Regions from separate parts of the Homo sapiens genome. Here regions 1 and 3 are each linked to region 2. Evidence: promoter capture Hi-C in 16 types of primary human blood cells and fetal thymus (Javierre and others, 2016). All regions are on one chromosome and are shown on one strand. The core of a region is centred on a gene start or on the middle of the fragment in contact, and the rest is flanking DNA. Distances in the headings are between cores, read along the strand shown. Region 1 overlaps MVP (major vault protein). Region 2 holds the start of TBC1D10B (TBC1 domain family member 10B). Region 3 overlaps LOC124903673 (a long non-coding RNA gene).

Evidence for each region. Contacts are between HindIII fragments. The CHiCAGO score rates a contact against its expected background, and 5 or more counts as called.
Region 1: a contact is called between a fragment that was not itself captured here and the fragment with the promoter of TBC1D10B in region 2, in 1 of 17 cell types (naive CD8 T cells). The highest score is 5.2, in naive CD8 T cells.
Region 3: a fragment that was not itself captured here is called in contact with the fragment with the promoter of TBC1D10B in region 2 in 1 of 17 cell types (neutrophils); the score reaches 5.1 in neutrophils.

Annotation. Positions count from the first base shown.
Region 1 is chr16:29,829,515-29,832,460 of GRCh38, forward strand. MVP (major vault protein) reads left to right here. Exons shown (of 15, transcript NM_005115.5): 2 at 1,001-1,160; 3 at 1,364-1,559. The coding sequence starts at 1,036. Among named protein-coding and RNA genes, the nearest start is that of MVP, 11 kb to the left of the region's middle. The HindIII fragment of the contact is 3,992 bases long and covers 1-2,946 here.
Region 2 is chr16:30,369,169-30,371,868 of GRCh38, forward strand. TBC1D10B (TBC1 domain family member 10B) reads right to left here and starts at 1,326. Exons shown (of 9, transcript NM_015527.4): 1 at 60-1,326. The coding sequence starts at 1,015. It also overlaps a transcript of MYL11 not described here. RefSeq lists silencers at 752-831, 922-1,211. The HindIII fragment of the contact is 4,560 bases long and covers 1-2,700 here.
Region 3 is chr16:29,748,814-29,751,783 of GRCh38, forward strand. It overlaps LOC124903673 (a long non-coding RNA gene), which reads left to right. Exons shown (of 2, transcript XR_007065046.1): 2 at 1-829. Among named protein-coding and RNA genes, the nearest start is that of C16orf54, 4.3 kb to the left of the region's middle. The HindIII fragment of the contact is 2,817 bases long and covers 232-2,970 here.

The DNA of each region.
Region 1 (2,946 bases), core at 1-2,500, 540 kb before region 2:
CACCTAGTAAACTTGGTCCCATTTGTGTGACTCAAAGGGACATGTCCAAAGTCCAAAGTGCTGGGGGCAGGGGTGGGGCTTAGGTAGGGCATGTGACATTCCTGAACAGGCCAAGCACTGGGTGAAACTACTCAGGATTCAGAAGCAGGTGGGATGGGTGGGTGGAACATGATAATCATCCCCCTTCTCCTTCCTTTCCACCCTACCCTTGCTCACAACTGCAGGAGCTGAGGATGGGAGAGAACTGGGGACGAGGGGGCCAGAGTGATTTGCAGTGTTAGTAATGCAGCTGGTTCTATGGAAGGCTCAGTTCCATCTGGGATCCCTTTATGAGCAGTGGACTAGGTCTTCACATTCAGCCCAGGATTACTAAAGCATAGGAAAGAGGCAGGGAACATAGACACAGCTCATGTAAACATTCCTTTTGTTTATGGCCGAATCCTAGCCACTGGACTACCTGAGGCATACAGATATTCTTTGGCTATGGGCTGACATTTGAATACAGCTGGGGCCTCAGGATTCTCTGAAATAAAGGGCTGCCTCCCTCTGGAGGAGCCAGGCAGCTCCTCAGAGCAGCTGCCCATTGCGTGCTGGACAAGGCCATGTCACCACCTCCATGGCTCCCCAGTTTCCCAGCTTGCTGTATCTCTCCACCGTAAGAGACTGGGAGCACCTTGATCTGAAGCTCTTTGCAGTGCCGGTGGCAGTGTAGGGGGAAGTAGTTGATGGGAGTGAGGGAAAGGAATTGGCAAGGAACCCTGGGCCTCTGTGGCTCACTGCATCAAGCAGTTCTTGGCAAAGGTAAGGTCAGGATGGGCTGTGTCGTCTTGGGTGGGGTGAAGACAGGGAGCAGTGGGCATGCAGATGCGGACAGGGAAGGGTGCAGTGGCCTGGCTGGAGGAGGTAGGGCCGTATCCCACCCAGAGTCTGTCACCAGATTCATGCCTGCCCCACCCCAGGCTCCCCAGGTTCATCCTGTGTCGTCTCCCCCACCTACCAGTCATCTTCTTGTGAGCCCTGGGCTTAGGAGTCACCATGGCAACTGAAGAGTTCATCATCCGCATCCCCCCATACCACTATATCCATGTGCTGGACCAGAACAGCAACGTGTCCCGTGTGGAGGTCGGGCCAAAGACCTACATCCGGCAGGACAATGAGAGGTGGGTGTGGGGGCTGGGCTGTGGGGGATCCTTGGGGATGTGGGGGCCTGTTTGGCTGGCATGATGGTCCTTATCCTCCTCCCTCTTCCCAAGCAGGAGTGGCCCTCGCTTGGGCGATAGAGAGGTTTCTCTCTCATTTGGTGTCCTCTTTGGTAGTGGAGACCTGGTCCCAGGTCCTCACACCTCTTCTCATCTTCCTGCAGGGTACTGTTTGCCCCCATGCGCATGGTGACCGTCCCCCCACGTCACTACTGCACAGTGGCCAACCCTGTGTCTCGGGATGCCCAGGGCTTGGTGCTGTTTGATGTCACAGGGCAAGTTCGGCTTCGCCACGCTGACCTCGAGATCCGGCTGGCCCAGGACCCCTTCCCCCTGTACCCAGGGGAGGTGCTGGAAAAGGTACCTGGTTTCCTCACTCCCTATGCCCCACCCTACCTGTCCTCCACCTGCCTTGGGCTCTATACTGCTGCCTTCTTCTTCTTTTTTTCTTTTCTTTTTTGAGGCAGAGTTTCACTCTTGTCGCCCAGGCTGGAGTGCAGTGGCATAATCTCGGCTCACTGGAAGCTCCACCTGGGTTCAAGTGATTTTCCTGCCTCAGCTTCCTCAGTAGCTGGGATTACAGGCACCCGCCACCACGCCCGGCTAATTTTTGTATTTTTAGTAGAGACAGGGTTTCACCATGTTGGCCAGTCTGATCTCAAACTCCCGACCCCAGGTGATCCACCTGCCTCGGCCTCCCAAAGTGCTGGGATTACAGGCATGAGCCACTGTTCCCGGCCTGTACCGAGTTCTAAAGGGAAAACAAACCAGGGCAGTGGGAGGGGTGGGGAGAGACACTTGCTGGCTCTCACCAAGGGTGGAATTGACTCACTGTACCTCCACTCACCTCCAGCCACCCCCATCCTCCACACATGCCCCAAACACACCTGCCTCTTTTCTGAGAACTGTTGGCCCATCTCACCTTCCCAGGCTCCAGAGCCTACCAGAAGTGCCCAGCCAGTCTGGCATTAAATGACATGTGCCAAGGTTAAGCAGTTCATTCACCCGGTGCCAGACACTGGTGGGCAGTGCCAAAGCAGCAGTGACAAGCCCAGGCCCCAGGCTGTGCCTGTTCTAGGAGAAGCCATCACAGGCCTGAACCTACAGCCAGGCTCTTGTCCCCGTTGGCCTCAGGCCTGGGCCTGAGCAGGTGGGTGTCCCACCTTCATTCCTTTACCTGTTCTTCCACCTTTACCTTCTGGCCATTTAATGGTTTTGGGTTTTTTGTTTGTTTGTTTGTTTGTTTTTAATAGAGACGGGGTTTCACCGTGTTAGCCAGGATGGTCTTGATCTCCTGACCTCATGATCCGCCCGCCTCGGCCTCCCAAAGTGCTGGGATTACAGGCATGAGCCACCGTGTCCAGCCCCATTTAATGGTTTTCTTACTGACTTTACTAACCAGTGCTGCTTGATCCTGAAAGCATAATAGCAGAACATGGGGAACTTTTAGAGACATTCATGTCCACTTAGGTGCAGACAGTTTGGGGGAAGAAGTGTGTGTGTAGAGAGAAAATGAAGAATGATTAAGACAATAACCCTTAAGGAATCCAAGTGAAAAGTATATAGGGATTCTTGTACCTTTTTTTTTTTTTTTTTTTTTTTGAGATGGAGTCTCACTCTGTTGCCCAGGCTGGAGTACAGTGGCATAATCTCGGCTAACTGGAAGCTCTGCCTCCCAGGTTCACGCAATTCTCCTGCCTCAGCCTCCCGAGTAGCTGGGACTACAGGCGCCCACCACCACACCCGG
Region 2 (2,700 bases), core at 76-2,575:
GCCCTCCCCCAACCTTTGCTTCCCCGAGGCGGTCCCGCTGGGTGCCCACTGGTACTCACAGGCTGCCCGAGTACTGGCTGCCCCCAAGGAAGCCATACTTGTCCGTCTTGCGCAGGGCCAGCCCGTTTATCTCTGAATCTGAGCCCATGGAGCTCACATCATCCGCCAAGGACTCCAAGGTCCCAGACATGAGGCTCACGGAGTCCAAGTAACTCAGCGTGTCCGGGGCCTGCCCTCGAGGCCCAGAGATGCCAGGTCCCAGGCTGGACGTGGAGCCCAGGTCTTGAGAGTTTTCAGCAGGCTCCGGAGCTGGGGTCACGGTCACGACAGCTACCGGAGCCTCACAAGTCCCAGAGGGGCCTGTGCCAGGGCCTGAGGGGTCCTCAGGAGCCTGTCCTGCTGATGCTGATGTTGCTGCGGCAGCTCCATGCCCACCTGTCACTTGTCCTGATGCACTCCGTGCAGTCACTCCTGAGGCCACTGTGGTTCCCGGCTTGGGGGCAAGCGGGGGTTTGGCGGTCAGGGCACCAGGAGCCGTTCTGGAAGGGGTCCTGGTAGGGGTCCCGGTGGGGGTCCCTGGTCCTGGGGCGGGTGAGGGTCGAGCCTCCTCTGTCTTCGGCGAGTCTGCCCCTGCGGCCAGAGCCCTCGATGTCTCAACTCCAGCCACTGCCGCGGGCTCTGGGGATTCCGGGCCGGAGGGGAGCTGCGGCTTTGGGGCTTCGGGCGAGGCCTCCAGGGTCAGCACCACCACCGTGCTGCCCGTGACAGCCGGGGCTGGGGCCGGGGCTGGGGCCGGGGCCGGAGCAGAGGTCTCGGCCGACCCCGGGACCCAGGCGGGCCGCGCCTCCCCGGGGGCCACCAGGGTGACGGGGGCCGAAGTGGCCGTAGTCACTGGAGGTCCCGGAGCCACCACCACGACGGGCCCGGCCCGGGAACCCCGGGGCGGCGGCGAGGGGGCCGCGGGGGCGCCATGACGGCGCGGCGGGGCCACCAGGGGCGCCGTGCCCGTCTCCATGGCCGCGGGCCGCCCCTCACATCCCCCCGCCGGGGAGGCCGCAGAAGGCGCCGCCCCTCGGGCCTCCCGGCGAGGCCAGCCGAGAAAGGGGAGAGGGCGAAGGGCGCGGCTCGGCGCGCGCCGGGGGCGGAGCGGCCGCTGGGCGCGCAGAGGCGGGGCAGGGGTCGGGGGGCGCCGCGCGCCGGGGTCTCTCTCGAGCCCTCTCACCCCCTCGCGCGCTCTCGCCACCGCCCCCTCCCTCCTGCTTGGGGGCGAGCCGCCGACCTCGCGCCTGCGCACACGCCGCAGAGCCGGCTCCGCGCCAGCGTCTCGGCGTTCCACGCCTGCGCGCGGACTGGCTCATCGCGCTCCTTTTTTCTCCCGCCTAGTCAGAGGATTTGGACGAATAGTGGGAGAGAGAGAACTGGGCTTCTGCCAATCGTTGGAATCGTGGGCGGGGCTGGAGGCGAAAAAGGGGTGGGTCATCTGGAAAGAGGAAACGGAGAAAGCTAGGGCTGTAAGACCAATCAGAGGACGAGGAAAGGCAGGGGGCGATGGGACGAAAGAAATAACCAATAGAAACGCAGGGGTCTGAACCTCCTGGCCAATGAATATGACTGAAGGGTGAATGACCGCGGAAGGGCGGAGGAGGAGGCAGGGCTGTGCGAGTAAGAGGTGGGGCCTGGAGGCTTCTTAACCAATAGGAATGGTAAAAAGGGAGCCAATGAAAAGGGGAGCAGGTGGAGGTCAAATTGACAGGCAGTGATGTCTATTTAGGCGGTGACAGACAGCATCCGCAGTCAATAGGAAGAGCTGAAGAATTCTTTAGGTCTCCCAAAATGGTCAGTAAGGAATGACAGCTGGGAGGAGGCGGGGCAAGCTAGAGATTAATTCGCCCCGTCAGCCAATGATCGTGTTCTCCCACTTTGGCCACAGGACAGGAAAATAGATAGCTGTCTCAGCCAATGGGAGCATCCAAAGGGCAAAGATGCTGCCAGCAGGCGGTGCCAGCCCAGGGATAGTCGGTGACAACCGGAGACAAGCCTTATGGGAGGGTGACAGCTGGGGACAGCACGGAGAAGGGGCGGGGGCATTAGTGCAGCCCTCAACCAATGAGTGCCGCGCTGCCCCCTCTCGAGTCCTTTCCGGTCCCCTATTCTTCGTTCAGCTCCTGAGCCCCACACTCTGGTGGTCTGTGGGACCCTGAGCCCCACCACAGATCCAGTGCCCTGACCCAGTACTCTCATCCTTTACTCTATAATTCTCCGATCTCGGCCCCCAACTAACCCCAACACTCCAGGCCCAGGTGGCAATAGCCAGAGCCCCCAGATCCTATAAGCAACCCATATCTCTGCTTCACCCATTTCCTGCGGGAATCCCAACCTCCAAGTCCCTCTCCTCAGTTCCCATCTATCTGAGCTCCTCCCCAGAACCCAGGCTCCAGTTCCTCAGACCTTATCCCTCTGAGTACCCCCTCCATTTCTTCTAGTGGGGATCTCAAACCCCAAATCCATGAATCCCTAATACCATGAACTCCCCATATGTGTGTTACTATTCTTTTGGGGATCCAAGGCCCCAGTCCCGTCAACCCCTCTCCCCTCACTGCCACATCCCTCTGTGCTCCTCATGTTCCACTGAGAATCCCGACCTCAATCTCATGAGCGCTCCAGGTTGTCCTTAGATCACAAGCATAAAGACCTGACGTT
Region 3 (2,970 bases), core at 390-2,889, 620 kb before region 2:
TCTAGCTAAGGGATTGTAAATACACCAATCAGCACTCTGTGTCTAGCTCAAGGTTTGTAAACACACCAATCAGCACCCTGTCAAAATGGACCAATCAGCTCTCTATAAAACAGACCAGTTGGCTCTCTGTAAAATGGGCCAATCAGCAGGATGTGGGTGGGGCCAGATAAGGCAATAAAAGCAGGCTGCCAGAGCCAGCAGTGGCAACTCGGCGTACCCTTCCACATAGGAAGCTTTGTTCTTTTGATCTTTCCAATAAATCTTGCTGCTGCTTATCCTGGGTCTGCACTGCCTTTATGAGCTGTAACATCGTGAAGGTCTGCAGCTTCACGCCAGAGGCCAGCGAGACCACGAACCCACCAGAAGGAAGAAACTCGGAACACGTCCGAACATCAGAAGGAACAAACTCCGGACATGCCGCCTTTAAGAACTGAAACACTCACCGTGAGGGTCCGCAGCTTCATTCTTGAAGTCAGTGAGACCAAGAACCCGCCAATTCTGGACACAAGGAGATCGAGACCATCCTGGCTAACACGGTGAAACCCCATCTCTACTAAAAATACAAAAAATTTATTAGGCGTGTTGGCGGATGCCTGTAGTCCCAGCTAGTCCCAGCTACTCCCAGCTACTTGGGAGGCTGAGGCGGGAGAATGGCATGAACCTGGGAGGCGGAGCTTGCAGTGAGCCGAGATTGCGCCACTGCCCTCAAGCCTGGGCGACAGAGCAAGACTCCATCTCAAAAAAACAAAACAAAAACAAACAAAAAAACCCTCTGTTTCCCGAATGCTCAGGGAGACTGATTTGAGTAATAATAAAACTCCTGGCTGGACACAGTGGCTCACGCCTGTAATTTCAGCAATTTGGGAGGCCAAGGCCGGTGGATCACCTTAGGTTGGGAGTTTGAGACCAGCGTGACCAACATGGAGAAAACACTGTCTCTACTAAAAATACAAAATTAGCCAGGTGTGGTGGCAAGTGCCTGTAATCCCAGCTACTCAGGAGGCTGAGGCAGGAGAATCACTTAAACCCTGGAGGCGGAGGTTGCAGTGAGCCGAGGTGGCACCATTGTACTCCAGCCTGGGCAAAAAGAGCAAAACCGTCAAAAAAAAAAAAAAAAAAAAAAAAAAAACTCCGGTCTCCTGCACAGCTGGCTCTGTGTGAATTACTCTTTATTGCAATTTTGCTGTCTTGATGAATCGGCTATGTGTAGGCAGCGGGCAAGGTGAACCCCTTTGGCAGTTACAGGGGGAAGCTAAGGCTCAGGACACTCGCAGAAACCTGAGGAGGCTAGAATTTTACCAGATTACAAGCCTTAAAATCAAACCTGAAGTTAGTGCCAGCGAACAACACGCTTAAAAATAACTAAGATGTTCTTTCTGGCTGTTCTAGAGGTCAATATAGAAAAATGATAGTAACTTTGATGTTATTTTATGTTATGTATTTCTTTTTTTCTTTTGAGACGGAGTCTGTCTCTGTTGCCCAGGCTGGAGTGCGGTGACGCAATCTTGGCTCACTGCAACCTCCGCCTCCCGGGTTCAAGATATTCTTCTGCTTCAGCCATCCAAGTAGCTGGGATTACAGGTGTGTACCACCGTGCCTGGCAGTTATGTGTGTTTCCCTACAATCAAACAATGATTTATTGTAAAAAAAAAAAAAATCAAAATAAACAAAACCTGAAAACTTGTATGTGCTCTTTTAATCAATCTTTTTAAACAAACTTTTAGAAGAGTTAACATTATTAAAAACTGGAAAGATCAGACATGGTTTTTTCTTACTAAGATATCACTGGCTGTTTTGATTCTTTCATCACGTACAAGTTTAGGCCCTACACAATGGTTCATGCCTGTAATCCCAGCACTTTGGGAGGCCAAGACAGGTGGATCACCTAAGGTCGGGAGTTTGAGGCCAGCCTGACCAACATGGCGAAACCCCGTCTCTACTAAACATACCAAAAAAGGCCGGGTGAGGTGACTCACACCTGTAATTCCAGCACTTTGGGAGGCCAAAGCAGGCGGATCATGAGGTCAGGAGTTCGACACCAACTTGGCCAACATGGTGAAACCCTGTCTCTACTAGAAATACAAAAATTAGCCGGGTTTGGTGGCAGGTGCCTGTAGTCCCAGCTACTTGAGAGGCTGAGGCAGGAGAATCGCTTGAACCCAGGAGGTGGAGGTTGTAGTGGGCCGGGATCATGCCACTGCACTCCAGCCTGGGTGACAGGGCAAGACTCTGTCTGGGGAAAAAAAAAAAAATTAGCTGGGCGTGGTGACACATGCCTGTAATCCCAGCTACTCAGGAGGCTGAGGCAGGAGAATTGCTTGAACCCAGGAGGAAGAGGTTGCAGTAAGCTGTGATCATGCCACTGCACTCCACCCTGGACAACAGAGCGAGACTCTGTCTCAAAAAAAAAAAAAAAAAGTTTAAGGCCAGGCAAGGTGGCTCATGTTTGTAATCCCACAATTTTGGGAGACTGAAGCAGGAGGATTGCTTGAGGGCAAGAGTTTGAGACCAGCCTGGGTAACATAGCAAGACTCCCATTTCTACAAAAAATCAAAAAATTAGCCAGGCATGATGGCATGTGCTTGTAGTCTTAGTTACTTGGGAGGCTGAGAGGGGAGGATCACTTGAGCTCAGGAGTTCAAGGCTGCAGTGAGCTATGGGTGTACCACTACACTCCAGCCTGGGAAACAAAGCAAGACACTGTCTCAACAACAAAAAAAGACCAAGTATATTTAGTCATTCTATAAAATTTAAGAAGCCAGCCAAAAACATTTATGTTCAGCAATTTGTTTCAGTTATTTCTTCTTACTTGGAAATAATACACACATCTAATGAATAATAGTTAATTTAATAGAACATAATAGAAGATTTAAAATTACATGAAAAATTTATTTATAATAAATTATCCATTACATACTTTATTTTTAACAGTTTCCCTAGATTATTTATGAAAACTGAGATATTAGGCAA